Linked DNA regions of Homo sapiens: region 2 is linked to region 1. Evidence: promoter capture Hi-C in 16 types of primary human blood cells and fetal thymus (Javierre and others, 2016). All regions are on one chromosome and are shown on one strand. Each heading gives the region's core, a stretch centred on a gene start or on the middle of the fragment in contact. The rest is flanking DNA. Distances are from core to core; before and after follow the strand shown. Region 1 holds the start of ZNF784 (zinc finger protein 784). Region 2 overlaps PPP1R12C (protein phosphatase 1 regulatory subunit 12C).

Evidence for each region. Contacts are between HindIII fragments. The CHiCAGO score rates a contact against its expected background, and 5 or more counts as called.
Region 2: a contact is called between a fragment that was not itself captured here and the fragment with the promoter of ZNF784 in region 1, in 1 of 17 cell types (fetal thymus). The highest score is 6.0, in fetal thymus.

Annotation. Positions count from the first base shown.
Region 1 is chr19:55,623,097-55,626,802 of GRCh38, reverse strand. ZNF784 (zinc finger protein 784) reads left to right here and starts at 2,237. Exons shown (of 2, transcript NM_203374.2): 1 at 2,237-2,319. The coding sequence starts at 2,242. RefSeq lists enhancers at 1,857-2,006, 1,757-2,256 and silencers at 2,077-2,136, 2,207-2,256. The HindIII fragment of the contact is 2,172 bases long and covers 1,914-3,706 here.
Region 2 is chr19:55,090,407-55,094,318 of GRCh38, reverse strand. It overlaps PPP1R12C (protein phosphatase 1 regulatory subunit 12C), which reads left to right. Exons shown (of 22, transcript NM_017607.4): 14 at 1,086-1,166; 15 at 1,243-1,303; 16 at 1,451-1,536; 17 at 1,657-1,697; 18 at 1,775-1,877; 19 at 1,993-2,097; 20 at 2,410-2,460; 21 at 2,619-2,669; 22 at 2,761-3,401. The coding sequence ends at 2,847. Among named protein-coding and RNA genes, the nearest start is that of EPS8L1, 16 kb to the right of the region's middle. The HindIII fragment of the contact is 7,228 bases long and covers 1-3,912 here.

The DNA.
Region 1 (3,706 bases), core at 988-3,487:
GGCGGGCCGATCAGCTGAGGTCAGGAGTTTGAGACCTGCCTGGCCAACATATGGTGAAACCCTGTCTCTACTAAAAACAAAAAACAAAACAAAACAAAAATACAAAAATCAGCTGGGCTGTAACACCCTGGGAACAAATCCGAACGTTCCTTCTAAACCAACGCAGGCCGACTCGAGGCTCTAGCAGTCAGTGGAAGACCTCAGCGGAACTGAAGAGGCTTTGCTTTGTTTCCACAGTAAAGGTTTTTGTGGTTACCTCTGCACCACTTGCGATAACGTAATGACGTGTCACACCTGTAGTCCCAGCTACTTGGGAAGCTGAGGCAGGAAATTTGTTTGAACCAAGGAGGTGGAGGTTGCAGTGAGCTGAGATCACGCCACTGCACTCCAGCCTGGGCTGTTTCTCAAAAAAAAGAAAAGAAATGAAATTATTTCACACCCAAGAGATTAGCGAACATTTTAAAGTTTGAGTATCAGATATTGATAGGAATGTTAAGCAACAAAGGTCCCTATTTATTGCTAGTGGGAGTGCCAAATGGTAGTAATTATTATAGCTAACTCATAGCACCTGCTGTGTGCCATACATTGTCCAAAATACTTTATATATAATGACTTCTTTAATCATCATAGCAACTGTGTAAAGTAGGTTTTATTATCACCCTCATTTTGCAAATTAGGAAACCTGGACAGAAAGAGCTGACTTAAGCATTAGACACAGTAGTAGATACAGTGCCTAGGGCCCATGATACTCTTAGGGACCCACAACATTTAAAAATTTATTTTAGGCCGGGCGCAGTGGCTCACACCTGTAATCCCAGCACTTTGGGAGGCCGAGGTGGGCGGATCACCTGAGGTCAGGAGTTCGAGACCAGCCTGGCCAACATGGTGAGACCCTGTATATACTAAAAATACAAAAATTAGCCGGGCATGGTGGCGGGCACCTGTAATCCCAGCTACTCAAGAGGCTGAGGCAGGAGAATCGCTTGAGCCCGGGAGGCAGAGGTTGCAGTGAGCCATGATCATGCCACTGCACTCCAGCCTGGGCGACAGAGTGAGACTCCATCTCAAAAAAAAAAAAATTATTTTAAAATCAAAAGAAAAGAAGGGAAATATAGCTTTGGAAGACCAAGGCAGAAGGATCGCTTAAGGCTAGGAGTTCAAGACCAGCCTGGGCAAGGCAAGACAGCAAGATCCCCATCTCTATAAAAGAAGAAGAAAGGAGGAGGAGGAGATAATTCAGCCTAAGTGGTGTTTATCTTTATTTTATACCAACATATCACAAAATATAATTTCATATATATTTATGAATGAAATGATCATGCTTAGGATCATGTTTAAGTATCTCCTATCCTGCCCTTTCAAGAAAACTATTTAAAGATGTTTCCAAACTCTTCCATGTCTCTTCTCAGTGGTTTGTCACAATGCTTCTACAGTGCTACACAAAAGAAAGAGAAATGGTCCAGAGAAGTGTAGTGACTTATCCAAGGTGATACCACCAGAATGACTAAACGGGGCAGCTAAGAAGAGCCCCGTCCTTGATGCTGCTGAAAACCCCGCGTTTTTGAGCTCTTTCCTCCCAAACATAACATCAGCTTGCGGGTTTTTGCGTCCTCCCAGGACCACCTGTGTTGCTGTTTACTGAATATTTTTCTCCACACTGCCTTTTTTTTTTTTTTTTTTGACAGAGTCTCTGTCACTCAGGCTGCATGCAGTGGCGAGATCATGGCTCACTGCAGCCTCGACCTCCCGGCCTCAAGCGATCCTCCCACCTCAGCCTCCCGAGTAGCTGAGAATACAGGCATGAGCCACCGCACCCGGCCTACACCGACGTTTATAAACTTGGCGTCATTACGTTGTCATGAGCAGTGCAGAGGTAATCACAAAAACGTTTACCGTGGAAACAAAGCAAAGCTTCTTCAGTTCTGCTGAGGTTCCCCTGACAGCCAGAGCCTCGAGTCGGCCTGCGTTGGTTTAGAAGGAACGTTCGGATTTGTTCCCAGGGTGTTACAGGCATCCTAGCGCCACACAGAGCGTACCCTCGGAGGGACAGACAGGTAATTAGAGAGGGAACAACTCACATTCTCCCGGGCTCAGCCGCCACGCCCCGCCCCGCCACGCCCCCTGCTGCACCACGCCCCCTCGCAGCCCCGCACTGCGCCTGCGCAGTAGCTCTTACGCCAGTTCGAGCCCCACCCCCTTTCAGAGCGAACATTGGCCTTGGGGGCGGGGCTTGGGCACAAGATGGCCGCTGCGCGCCCAGAGGCCCAGAGTCGGAGCTCACCGACTCCGGAGTCGCGATCCCAGGAGCCACTGGACCTGGTGCGGGCAAGGAAGGGGCCTGGGCGTGGGGCTCGAGGTGGGAGGAGGTCGTAGTGTGGGGGGCGGGTCCGGGGCGTGGCCTATGAGGGGGTGGGCGAGGGAGGTATTTAGTGCTATGGCCCTGGGGGTGGGGCTTCTTGTGGTTTCGCGAGGGGCGGGGCAGGGGAGGAGACTATGTCATGGTGGGCGGGGTGGGGGAGGGACCTATGGGTGGTGGGCGGGGCCTGGATGGGGGCGGAGTCTGAGGACGGTGTTGTCTTGTGGGACGGGTTTGGGTCCAGGGAAGGGGGCTTACCAGGGATAATTTGCATAATTTGGGTGGAGCCTTGTAAGGGGCGGGGCCTCATAAATTCTAGGGCTAATTCTAGGGTAGAAGGTTGGGAAGGTGACCCTGAAAAACGTGGGGGATTATGATTGGAGCACCTATGTCGGGGTAGGGGATAATTCTTCAAGGGTCTTAGTGATGCTTCTCGAATGCCCAAGGGAGAATTTGGGGGTAGAAGTGGGTGGTCTAGGTGACTTTGGAACTTCCTCCACGTTACCCCACTCAGAATTAGACTAATTGAGGACATTCATTCATTCAACAAACATTTACTGAGCTCCTACTTCGGCTCTGTAAATAGAGAAGTGACCAAGACAGACAAGGGTTGTGTTCTTTTGGAGCCTGCAGTCTCTTGAGAGGAGAGAGACAATAAAGGAGAGTTACTGTGATATGTTCTATAAAGGAAATAAAAATTGAGCCAATTTCTATAAATTGAGCCAAGAGTAGGGGTGGGGCAGCTAAATTTAGACGAGAGAAGTCAGCTGGGTGCCGGCTTATGTTTAAGCTGGGGTCAGAGAGATAAGTGGAGCTACATCGCCACAGATATTATAGTGACGATTTGGGATAAGTCATTTGGAGCCACTGGAGGGTTTTGAGTGCGAAAAATGACTTGATCTGATTTACATTTTCAAAAGACCTTCAGGCTATTCCTGGGAGGTGGGTTACAAGCCAGCAGAAATAGGAACAGAGATGCCCTTGGGTTTTTCAATTTTGGAGGCGCCAAGTGATGGGGCTTTAACTAGGGTGGAGGACAAAAGGTGGGATCCATGATATATTTTGGACAGGAGAGGAAATGTTGATGAGGATACAACAGAATCCTGGAGGATGGGCCGGGCGCGGCGGCTCACGCCTGCAATCCCAGCACTTTAGGAGGCAGAGCCAGAAGGATCTCTTGAGCCCAGTAGTTGGAGACCAGCCTGGGCAACATAGTGGGACTCCCTCTACATTAAAAATAATAATAATAATTTTTGTTTGTTTTGCTGTCTAAGATGGAGTCTTGTTCTGTCGCCTGAGCTGGAGGGCAGTGGCATGATCACATCTCACTGCAACCTCCACCTCCTGGGT
Region 2 (3,912 bases), core at 369-2,868, 530 kb after region 1:
CCTGGGTCTGAGGGAGGAGGGGCTGGGGCCTGGACTCCTGGGTCTGAGGGAGGAGGGGCTGGGGGCCTGGATTCCTGGGTCTGAGGGAGGAGGGGCTGGGGCCTGGACTCCTGGGTCTGAGGGAGGAGGGGCTGGAGGTCTGGACTCCTGGGTCTGAGGGAGGAGGGGCTGGGGCCTGGACTCCTGGGTCTGAGGGAGGAGGGGCTGGGGCCTGGGCTCCTGGGTCTGAGGGAGGAGGGGCTGGGGCCTGGACTCCTGGGTCTGAGGGAGGAGGGGCTGGAGGTCTGGACTCCTGGGTCTGAGGGAGGAGGGGCTGGGGCCTGGACTCCTGGGTCTGAGGGAGGAGGGGCTGGGGCCTGGGCTCCTGGGTCTGAGGGAGGAGGGGCTGGGGCCTGGACTCCTGGGTCTGAGGGAGGAGGGGCTGGGGTCTGGGCTCCTGGGTCTGAGGGAGGAGGGGCTGGAGGTCTGGACTCCTGGGTCTGAGGGAGGAGGGGCTGGGGCCTGGACTCCTGGGTCTGAGGGAGGAGGGGCTGGGGTCTGGGCTCCTGGGTCTGAGGGAGGAGGGGCTGGGGCCTGGGCTCCTGGGTCTGAGGGAGGAGGGGCTGGGGTCTGGGCTCCTGGGTCTGAGGGAGGAGGGGCTGGGGCCTGGGCTCCTGGGTCTGAGGGAGGAGGGGCTGGGGTCTGGGCTCCTGGGTCTGAGGGAGGAGGGGCTGGAGGTCTGGACTCCTGGGTCTGAGGGAGGAGGGGCTGGGGCCTGGGCTCCTGGGTCTGAGGGAGGAGGGGCTGGAGGTCTGGACTCCTGGGTCTGAGGGAGGAGGGGCTGGGGCCTGGACTCCTGGGTCTGAGGGAGGAGGGGCTGGAGGTCTGGACTCCTGGGTCTGAGGGAGGAGGGGCTGGGGCCTGGACTCCTGGGTCTGAGGGAGGAGGGGCTGGAGGTCTGGACTCCTGGGTCTGAGGGAGGAGGGGCTGGGGTCTGGGCTCCTGGGTCTGAGGGAGGAGGGGCTGGGGCCTGGGCTCCTGGGTCTGAGGGAGGAGGGGCTGGGCCCTGACCCCAGCGTCCCCTGACTGTCCCCTTTCCCTGCCAGGGTGTGACTCTTACAGACCTGAAGGAGGCAGAGAAGGCTGCAGGGAAGGCCCCAGAGTCAGAGAAGCCGGCGCAGAGCCTGGTGAGAGGGGTCAGCGAGGGCGAGTGGGGTGGTGCGGGATGTCCTGCTTCCCTGACTCGCCTCCCCCTCCCGACAGGACCCTTCCCGAAGGCCCCGCGTCCCTGGAGTGGAGAACTCTGACAGCCCTGCCCAGAGAGGTGAGGTCTGCTCTCGGGGAGGTCATTCCCAGGGAATCATCCAGTTTCTCCCATAGTCTTCTTGCTTTCCTGGGGGCTTGACCCGGGGACCCAGGCACCGAGAGGGGGCTCTGGAGGTGCCTGGGCTGATTCCTGCCCCTCCCCCAGCAGAGGCGCCCGACGGGCAGGGTCCGGGACCGCAGGCGGCCAGGGAGCACCGCAAGGTCGGAAAGGAGTGGAGGGGGCCTGCGGAGGTGAGGGGCTCAGGTGGGGCCGAGCTGGTGCAGAGGGTGGGCCGGGGGGCGGGCAAAGCCCTTCCCATACCCGCTAAAGTCCCTCCCATACCCATTGAACCCCCGTCTACCTGCCCACAGGGGGAGGAGGCGGAGCCGGCTGACCGCAGCCAGGAGTCCAGGTAGGGGCGGGGTGGGAGAGGTGGGGTCTGCGTGCGGGCCGGGCCGGCCCCTGACGCGCGCTCCTCCCCTGCCCCAGCACCCTGGAGGGCGGCCCCTCGGCCCGCAGGCAGCGGTGGCAGCGGGACCTCAACCCAGAACCTGAGCCAGAATCGGAAGAGCCAGACGGAGGCTTTAGGACGGTGCGATCCCACCCCTCCGTCGGGGCTTTGCCTGCTGGGTGCCCAGCTTCCTGGCTTCCCCGCCCCCCCAGCATCGCCCCATCCTCCACCTGACCCTCCTCTACCTGACCCCCAGCTGTATGCAGAGCTGCGCAGGGAGAACGAGCGGCTTCGCGAGGCCCTGACCGAGACCACGCTGCGGCTGGCGCAGCTCAAGGTGGAGCTGGAGCGGGCCACGCAGGTAAGGGCGCCGAGGCCAGGGTCACGGGAACTGGCAGGGCCGCCTGGGTGGGGCTTAGACTGCTGGGAGGTAGAGCCTGGCCTGGGGGTGCCGGCGGGGCTGGGCTTCACTTGAGGGGCGGGGCCGAGATCTCGGAGGCGGAGTCTGAGCGAGGGGATGGGGCTGTGGGCCTGCCGGTGGCGGGGCCTGGCCCGTGGGGGAAGGGCTTGTGGGCTGCCTAGTGGGCGGGCGGGTGCCCAGCAGGAGCCTAGGACCCTTCAGAGCAGTGCTGGCTTCTTCTGCTGACCCCTGTGCTTTCTGTGTCCTCACCAGAGGCAAGAACGCTTCGCTGAGAGGCCAGCCCTCCTGGAACTGGAGAGATTCGTGAGTAGGGGCAGTGGGGATGGGGGCCAGAGGCGTCCCCAGCCTCACATCCCTAAGTTTGGACCAAGGGAGCCACATTGCCCTTCCCAGCTGGCCCCTGGCCTTCCCCTGCCCTCCTCAGCCTCACTCAGTTTCTGCACTTTCCCTGTTCATTCCAGGAGCGCAGGGCCCTGGAACGCAAGGCCGCAGAGCTGGAGGAGGAGCTGAAGGTGGGGGCTGTGGGGGCTGTGGGCAGAGGGCCGAGGGTGGGTGGGGGTGCAACCCGCCAGGGCTGCCCAGCTGACCCTTGCCGTCCCCCAGGCCCTGTCTGACCTCCGCGCTGACAACCAGCGCCTCAAGGATGAGAATGCAGCGTTGATCCGCGTCATCAGCAAACTCTCCAAGTGACCCGGAGGGACTTTCCCGCACCCGTATTTATACAGCTGCTTCTGCCACACGCACCCCTTCCCCCGTGTGAACACGAGTGACAGGGCTCCGGGGGAAGTCTCAGAGAAGCCATAGCCCCCCTGGGACCTCCGGACTGGGAGGGGAGCAGAGTCCCCAGGAGCCGAGGGGGCCACCCGAGGCCAGGATGGAGGTGGGAGGCCGAGCCAAGCAGGGGGACGTTGCCAGAGGGGACCAGGGCCAGAGACGGGACCAGGAAGGAACTGAGGACCAAGAAGTGCAAGGATCAGTAGCCAGGACCAGAGTGGCCGCCTGGAGGTCCCCATCTCACGTGTGATGCCACCCCGTCACCCCTCCCCTCCTGAGCAGGGATCCAAGAATGTGCCAAGAGTCCCGCCAGCCTCAGCCAGGTGGGCCTGTATATAGGGTCCATGTGCAATAGGGAGGGACGTCTTCTATTTTTTGCTGCCCCCTCCCCGCCCACTGTCTGGGGCAGGGGGAGAAGGTATTTTCGAGATAAAGCACAGGCACCACAAATAAAAGTCGTGAAGTTGCCACTCAAGCTCTGTGTTCCCAGCCAGAGGGAGGGCACTGTTTCCTGCTCCTGCTGGGGGGCCGTGCGTGTCCATGACCAAACCACTGGGCCACTTGGGTGGGTGCCGGGGGATGGGCTGGTGCTTACTCACCTGTGTGGTGAAGGAGCTTCAGGATGAGCCCCCAGCGGGAGCGAAGGCTCCAAGACGGAGCCCGCGTGATCGCAGGCGGGGGGCTGAGGGGAAGCTGATGGGGCAGGAGGGATCAGCGGGCAAGACCTCTGGGGCCAAGGATGTGGAGCTGGGGAGTTTGGGTTTTGCCATCAGTGTCTTTGAAACAAATTTAGTCAATTGCCAACATTTAACATTTGGAGAAATTTGTGTGTAAAAATCTGGAATTTTGGCCGGGTGTGGTGGCTCACGCCTGTAATCCCAGCACTTTGGGAGGCCGAGGCGGGCAGATCATTTGAGGTCAGGAGTTCGAGACCAGCCTGGCCAACATGGTGAAACCCCTTCTTTACTAAAAATGCAAAAA